Regions from separate parts of the Homo sapiens genome. Here all the other regions are linked to region 1. The links are contacts of gene promoters, found by promoter capture Hi-C in blood cells and fetal thymus (Javierre and others, 2016). All regions are on one chromosome and are shown on one strand. Each heading gives the region's core, a stretch centred on a gene start or on the middle of the fragment in contact. The rest is flanking DNA. Distances are from core to core; before and after follow the strand shown. Region 1 holds the start of MNDA (myeloid cell nuclear differentiation antigen). Region 2 overlaps IFI16 (interferon gamma inducible protein 16). Region 3 overlaps SPTA1 (spectrin alpha, erythrocytic 1).

The links. Contacts are between HindIII fragments. The CHiCAGO score rates a contact against its expected background, and 5 or more counts as called.
Region 2: a fragment that was not itself captured here is called in contact with the fragment with the promoter of MNDA in region 1 in 1 of 17 cell types (neutrophils); the score reaches 6.4 in neutrophils.
Region 3: a fragment that was not itself captured here is called in contact with the fragment with the promoter of MNDA in region 1 in 1 of 17 cell types (M1 macrophages); the score reaches 6.6 in M1 macrophages.

Annotation. Positions count from the first base shown.
Region 1 is chr1:158,830,058-158,832,757 of GRCh38, reverse strand. It overlaps MNDA (myeloid cell nuclear differentiation antigen), which reads right to left and starts at 1,407. Exons shown (of 7, transcript NM_002432.3): 1 at 1,201-1,407. It also overlaps a transcript of OR6N1 not described here. The HindIII fragment of the contact is 3,002 bases long and covers 1,285-2,700 here.
Region 2 is chr1:159,015,966-159,018,665 of GRCh38, reverse strand. IFI16 (interferon gamma inducible protein 16) reads right to left here. Exons shown (of 12, transcript NM_001376587.1): 3 at 2,679-2,700; 4 at 1,966-2,133; 5 at 15-437. Among named protein-coding and RNA genes, the nearest start is that of IFI16, 7.4 kb to the right of the region's middle. RefSeq lists an enhancer at 2,450-2,700. The HindIII fragment of the contact is 2,618 bases long and covers 58-2,675 here.
Region 3 is chr1:158,643,727-158,646,426 of GRCh38, reverse strand. SPTA1 (spectrin alpha, erythrocytic 1) reads left to right here. Exons shown (of 52, transcript NM_003126.4): 28 at 833-932; 29 at 1,042-1,239; 30 at 2,031-2,174. Among named protein-coding and RNA genes, the nearest start is that of OR10Z1, 40 kb to the right of the region's middle. The HindIII fragment of the contact is 546 bases long and covers 1,155-1,700 here.

The DNA of each region.
Region 1 (2,700 bases), core at 158-2,657:
GTTATATTCTTCAAACTCTAACTTAAAGAAAGACTTTTTAGGAAAAATAGTGTAGCTTAAAATAGGCTTAAGTCAATAAGTATCAGTACATAGTTTCACTACATAATGGTAAAGTATGCAACTTGGAAAAAGATATAATAATTTAAATTATATTATAAATATAATCTGTTATTACTTTATAAAGTAGCATATAGAAGTTTTTTCTTCTCTCTAAACACACACATAACATATATACTTAGATATACATATTCTATGTAAAAATATATGGTAGAAATCAAAAGAACTACAATGAGAAATTAACAAAATCACTATTAGAGTTGGAGATTTCACCACATCTCTCAGTTACTGAAAGAACAAGGTAAAAAATAGCTTAGATTTAGATTTAGATTTTTCAAACATAATTAACAAGCTTACTTAAGAAACTTTATCTTACTTAAATAGAATTTGGAATCCAACGTTTATAAACTCTTCTCAAGTACTCATGGAGTAATTAGAAAACATTCATATGTACAAAGCCATAAAAAAGTCAAAATGTATCCCAAAGTAGGAAATATATAATTGATTCTCCCTGTCTTTTCATTATACCTTGCCACAAAAAATGTTATCTATGACTGAGTAAAGCATAGACCATTTGAAAAAGAGAATTATTTCTTCTTACACTTGTTGTAAAATGAAGCATAAAATGAAACTGATTCATGAAAATGTAAAGATTATTTTTGAGTAAATGCTTGTAAAATTGAGAAATTAATGTGTGCACATGTCTATGCTTTTTAAAATAGAGATAAAATCATATAATAGAGATTTATATCCTGGTTTATTTTTTACTAAATATTACTTCATAATAATTTTCTTATCTGACTGTCTTGTCTTTTAACTTAGGCCCAAACCCAGTCACCAAGTCATCCTCCAGCCAAGAAAACCAAGTATCTCCTCTAAATATCAATTTATGCCAAAAGACACCCAAGAATTAATTTTTAAAACCTGCTGTAGACAAAATACATTTTTTTGGTTCATACCCCAATTGTGGTAGAATAAAAGATATCCATTTGCTACCTAGACAGTTAAAGCATTCAGTTCTCAGTTTTCTGAATATGATTGATAACAACACTTCTGGTCTCAGGCAATTATTCTCTACTGAGATGGTGTGGTTACCAACTAGATACCTAGATCTTTCTCTAAAGAACTTCCCAGAAATCTCACCTTAATGGATGCTTCTTCCACAATAGTCTTCAGAAATCCTGGAGTCACTGTCTTGTTTAGGACAGAATCACTGTCCGTAAAGCTTTGGAGAGATTAAACTGCAGACTATTTTAATCTTGTAAAGGGCTGAGAAATGAAAGCTAACAAGGAAAAATGGCACTTGTTAGAGCCACTCTCAATCTTGATTGTAGATGGCCTTCTTACACTGTCCTAATTCCTAACTAGAAAGAAGTTATGTAATCATGAAACAATTTTGAAGCCACGCCTATCAGCCTTTGTAGCTTTCTATTTCAGATGTCAGAGAAAGTGGTCAGTTCCTCTTTGTAGTAAGTAATCTCAGTCACAAGGAGAAATGACAGTAAATGGTGCCTCTTCTTCGCTTTTTTGACTTACAAATACTTGCTGAAAGGAGTTTCAAACTCAGAACTTTCTTATAAAGCTAACTTACATATAGGTCATTAGAAACCGGTAGCCGCTTGAATAAGGATCTTAATATAAATTGGGAAAGGCAAAACACCAAAGTTTCTCCCTCCTTTCCTGTTCACAGAGTGGCAGGAGCAGGAGATCTTGGTAGAGATGTCTATTGCTACCAGAACTTGACTTCATCTCTTGGATAGGGGTGGGTCTACTGTGAAATTGTTTTTGTTTAAATAGTACCTACATATTCACCCAGTTATTAATAACTGATACACCTGGAGCTTGACAGAGGCAGAAAGTCATTATGAATATGTAAATCCTTATTCAAATAATTTGAAAGAGTTTCATACTAGTTGCTCTCTTGAGTATAATAACTGAGCTGCCTTACCTTGATTATTAAATTCATGATTACTCATGCTTTTTGCATTATTTATGGATAGTTGGTTCATATCATGACTGAAACCTTGAACATTCTGGAACAGCACTGAAACTCTGGAATGATAGGGGGCCTGATAAACCCTTTGTACTGCAATTTTTTTTTCCTGTGAAGAACAGTGGGTGCACTACAAAGTATCATAACTCTGAATTGTCAAATGAATGGTATCAGTTAGCAGACAGTGCTGTGGTTACCAACTAGCTGATCTGTAAGCAAAATGTGGTCATGACTGGAAAAGGATCCCAAAACAGCTAATAGGGGAAAATGATCCAAGGCCATCTACAGAGAAGAATAAAGCTGATTGTCTTAATCCAAACCAGCAGCATAGAGAGAGTTAAAGTTTGGATTTGGAAACTGTCTAAACCCCACTAAAGCAGGGTAAATCAGAAAAAACCAAGAGGATCTAGAATGACAGCCACTAACACATGTGGGTGTTCATTGTTTCAGTTTCTCTCTTATGCTGATGCTTCGAGCAGGTCTTAAGGTAAAGGGTAAAGAGGAACACAAGGAAACCTTATCAGGTGCCCCACTTCAGTGTTTGGGAACCAAAAGAGCTCACGACAGGAGTTACCATGTTTCAGGACAGCTTTCTGCCCTGATATGGTTTGGCTCTGTGTTCCCACCCAAATCCCATCTTGTAGCTCCCA
Region 2 (2,700 bases), core at 117-2,616, 190 kb before region 1:
TTTTGAGGACTTACCTTATGTAGCATAAATACCCCATATACAATATTTCCTGAAGCTTGTTTGTGAAGAATATCAATCTTCAGAGTTTCCTTTGCTCTGTTGATGATTTTATTTGGAACCTCAAACGTTTGGTTAGGACCAGCTTCAGATACAGTAGATTCTTCATTGACCTCTAGGAGACTATCATATTCCAAATAATCTGATATGATGATGATTTTCTTTCCATTGAATTTCTCCTTCAAGCTGGTGTTTAAAACCTTCACATGGAAGAACTGTGTCTGTGTAGCCACTGTAGCATGAAACATTATTTTTTTCTCCATTTCTGGGGTCTCATATTCAAATGGCTTTGTTGTACTCAGTACCTTCACTATCACTGGGCGTTTTTGGAGAACATTTCTTCTGGGAGTTACCTGACATTTGGCCACTGTTTTCGGGTTCTGTGTATGATAGCACAGGAGAACAAAGAAAAATGTCTAATTGAGAAATACAGAACTGCTATTCAGTGACCTCAGTATAACACAGGGCCCCAAAACTTGCACAGATGTTTAGAGCTGGAGTCAGGATAGAGAGGGATTGCGAGCCAGGGCAGAAGATATCTTAAACTGGTACAATAGCAAGATGAAGTAACAGAGGAGACCATATAGTGAAAAGATGACCTTTCTGTAAACAGAATCAACCTTAAGAAATAAAGCATAAGAGCAACATAAGACCAGTGGATACTGAAAGCCAGTGTCATGAAGTAACTTAATAAATTTTAGGGCCAGGCGCGGTGGCTCACACCTGTAATCTCAGCACTTTGAAACGCCGAGGCGGGTGGATCACCTGAGATCAGGAGTTTGAGACCAGCCTGGCCAACATGGTGAAACCCTGGCACTACTAAAAGTACAAAAATCAGCTGAGTGTAGTGGCAGGCGCTTGTAATCCCAGCTACCTGGGAGGCTGAGGCAGGAGAATCACTTGAACCCGGGAGGTGGAGGCTGCAGTGAGCCGAGATTATGCCACGGCACTTCAGCCTGGGTGACAGAGCGAGACTCTGTCTCAACAACAACAACAACAACAATAAATAAATAAATAAATTTTAGAATGAAATAATTTCTTATACTATTTCTCTTACCAGCTTAAAGTGCCAGAGCCTAAAAATAGACAAAGTTAAATGACATTTAAAATGATCAATAAATACTAAAAAAAAATAAAAATAAAAAAAAAATGAAAAATGGTGCCCACCACAAACTATAGACACAAAGAGTGTTCAGTTATCACCAGTGTAGACAGGGCAATTTAAAGAGCACATTTCATAGTGTTCCTACCCAAGATTCAGTTTGCTTACAGCAGGTGAGAACACAAGTAGGATAAACCCCTCAGAATGCCATCATCTCAGTAGGTTCAGGCTGCAGAAACTCTACAGAGTGTCATTCCCACCACCATAGCCTTTCTCAGTGTCAGGGCTCTAGCAGGTAGCATGCTAACAGAAACCTGGGGCTCAGAAAGGGTTTTCTTTAACATCTTTACTCTTTAACATCCCAGTCTCCTTAAACTGCGATAGAACAGTTTTAATGCAGGGGAGGTTGTTTAATCTACAAGAAAAAGAGCTGAGGGTATGGATAACCTCATTCACAAACTAGCAGGTGCTGGAGAGGTCTGACATGGAATACTATAGTGAACCAAGGGAAGAGGTATGAAGGACATGGGAGCAGTAGACAGTGAGCCCACAGCTGACAGTTCTGTACTGCATAGCTCTCTCTCCCTTCCCCAAACAACACAGAACAGAAAACTTCCTGCAGTCAGAGATAATGTCAAGTTCATCAAGTATCCCTGTGAAAGCAAAAGATCAAAATGTAGTGGTTTCTCAATATGTACATTGGATTAACTAGCAAATTATCGATGCAATTTTTAAGTAACCGGTGAAATCAGTCCTTTACTTTGGGTTGAAAAAAACAAAGCAAAATGGGACCAGGAAGAGTGTACCTCAGTTGAAGAACTGTTGGGTGGAGCTGACAATGAGGTCTTGGGAGATGGGGAACGGCCCATGGCTGTGGACATGCCGGCTCCTGCAGGAGAGGGAGGCTGAGTCTGTTCCTCGGACACCTTACTCCCTTTGGGTCCAGCCTTTTCTTTGGTTGATTTTTTTCTTTTCTGAAAGTGGTTTGATTTTCCTGTTATTCGTTTTCAGTGCCAAATGAAGTAGAGCACATTTTCATTATTGGATAGTAGTTTTATTATTCCTAAGAAGATGTTTCTTGGAAACTTGAGAGGTTGCTGCCCATCTCTCGCCAGTTTAAGAGATGGGCATAGATGGTTTCATTAAACGAAGAAAGAGGAGAATGTTATACACATTATTTCTCTAATTATTTCTGTTATGGGATGTGCTGACTTGGGATTAGAGAAACTAGGTTTTTATACACATGGACAAAGTACTTACCTGATTCTCACGTTGACACTCCACTCTACTAGAATGAAGGTATCACATTTATGTTATATATATTTACATTATGTTTACTCATGTGTTTGGTGCATTGCTTTGAGCATCAATAAGATGATCAATTATCATACAATTTGGTAAATCTGAAACTTGATGGGAAACATGAAGAAATAACTGCCTGCTGGAGAGATTGAGTGGAAGAGCCGTAGCAGAGCTTCCTCTGTGGGACTTGAAGCCTGCTCCTCTTCCTGAAGCTTACCTGAGCTCCAGGAGTTGCCTCT
Region 3 (2,700 bases), core at 178-2,677, 190 kb after region 1:
GCCTTTTTCACAATGTTTGGTACTTAGTAAGCACCCAATAAAACTTAGTTGCTTGAATAAATAAATTTACAAAAGAAGAGACCTCTCTTTCCTAGAGCTAAGGGTTCCTGTTGAGCAAACAAGAGTAATGACATTCTTTATGAGATGCTTAATTTATACACCATATATGCTTTAAAGTTAATGCATAGTTAAAATTTGCCTTTTAAGAAGATAGACCTTAGTTTTGCTCGTCTAACTTCCTGACTACTAAAAGGGTAGGGAAATAGACCTTGATTTAATCAACAGTGTGGAGGCCTGTGTGTGTATGTGTATGTTGGCCAAAATATGTGCTAGATTCACTTGAGAATAAAAGTAAGAGGAAAGACATGATTTCTTTGAGACTCTGTAATAAGATGTATCTTCAAACCCTAGAAACCACTTAAAAGGAACAGTAACCAACAGAAGTAATGAAATATATAACAGTCCAGGATTCCAGAGGTCTAGGTTTTATTGAAGATGTCTGCTTTTAGTTATACCACATAGGCAGATTAATTACCTTTTCTAAGGTGACTTCTTTATCTCCATAATGAAAACAAAAAATTCCCGGAATCTCTGCAGGATTACTGCAAGAATTGAAAAAGATAATAAAAGTGAAGAGGCTTTCAAATACAAGGGATTGTTATCATTAGGTGATATAATAAAAACAGCAAACGTAAGATCTGTAAAGCATATAAAGCCAGATAAAAAATGTTATTCTGGAAATGTTTTCTAGAGAATGGAAAACTGTAGGACAAACAGCACTGTAGCAAGTTGCAAGGTTTTCTTGTCAATTCCAATGTGTCTGTTTATCTAGGGATCTGCAGAACTGGATCAGTAGCATTGGTGGCATGGTATCATCACAGGAGCTGGCCGAAGACTTAACTGGCATAGAGATCTTGCTGGAGAGACATCAGGTAAAACTACAAAAGTCACAGCCACTGATCACTTGACCTGAAACCTCTACTAATTTTAAAATTTCCAATGGAGTTGGCCTCACTGATTTCTTCCCCCTTTTTCCCACAGGAGCACCGTGCTGACATGGAGGCAGAGGCTCCCACCTTCCAGGCCTTAGAGGACTTCAGTGCAGAACTTATCGACAGTGGGCACCATGCTAGCCCTGAAATTGAAAAAAAGCTTCAAGCTGTCAAGCTAGAGAGAGATGATTTGGAGAAGGCTTGGGAAAAACGCAAGAAGATCCTAGACCAGTGCCTGGAGTTGCAGGTACAGCAAATTTCCCAATTGTTAAGCAGGTTCAGTAGTCTGTTTCTCCTATGCAATTTCATATGGTCATTACAGGCTCCGTTCACTAGACTTTCCACGTTATAAACACAAAGGGAGCTCATCTCTTAATTACCTAGCATTGTACTATGCTTTCTATACCGATCATTGTCATATTCTCTGCTCTTTCTTGTTAGAAGAGCCAAACAAGATGGTGATCAGTCCTGAGCATGAGGTGGGTTGACTATCATTTGTTGATTGACTGAGGAATTGATTGGCTGATTTTTGTTGAGACTCTACTCTGTGGAGGCTCGGAGTGCCACAAAGATTAGTAAGATAGTTTCCCATTTCTTAAATAGTGAAATTAGACATATAGATAAATTTTACTAGTACAGTGAGATGATTATTAATAAACCAAAATGTACGAGTGCTTTGAGGCTAAAAAACAAGAAGTGATTAAAGCTTTTGGGGGAAGTAAGTGGTTGTGTCACAGGCTACCCTGAAGGATAACGTTTCACAAAGTCTTAAGGAAATGACCAGCCAGTATTAACAAGGTTTAAGAAATAGGAAATAGCACCCCAGGAATTGGAGGTAGCATATACAGAAACATAAAGTGTATGTTTGGAAAAGAGGAAAAGTTCCAGTACAGCTAAGATTTGTCACATGAGTGTTTCTTGGAAGATGGTAAGTACTCCTTGCAAAACCCTTTGTGTCATGATCCTGAAAGAGGTGTAACATCATTTCCTCCACACCACATGGACTATACCATACCCCTCTCATTTGATTCCTCATAGATGTTCCAGGGGAACTGTGATCAAGTTGAGAGCTGGATGGTGGCACGTGAGAATTCCCTGAGGTCAGATGACAAAAGTTCCTTAGACAGTCTGGAGGCTTTGATGAAGAAACGGGACGATTTGGACAAAGCAATCACTGCCCAGGTAATAATGACTAGTAAAGGAATTAAAATAATAATCCGTAGTAATAATAACAGAAATCCTACACATTTGTCTGGTTTTATAATTTATAAACATTTTGATTTACTTTTTTTTTTTTTGAGATGGAGTCTCATTCTGTCACCCAGGCTGGAGTGCAGTGGTGTGATCTCGGCTGACTGCAACCTCTGCCTCCCGGGTTCAAGTGATTCTCCTACCTCAGCCTCCTGAGTAGCTGGGATTACAGACACCCACCACCATGCCCAGCTAATTTTTGTACTTTTAGCAGAAACAGGATTTCACCATGTTAGCCAGGCTGGTCTCGAACTCCTGACCTCAAGTGATCTACCTACCTCGGCCTCCCAAAGTGCTGAGATTATAGGAGTGAGCCACCGTGCCCAGCCCTGATTCTTGTTTGCTTCTTACAGAAAAACTGAGGCAGGCAGGGCAGCTTGACACTTGACATTGTTTCACCCAAGTCACAGGCAGCAAGCAGACTCTCTTACTTTAAATCCAGCATTCTAAACTCTGA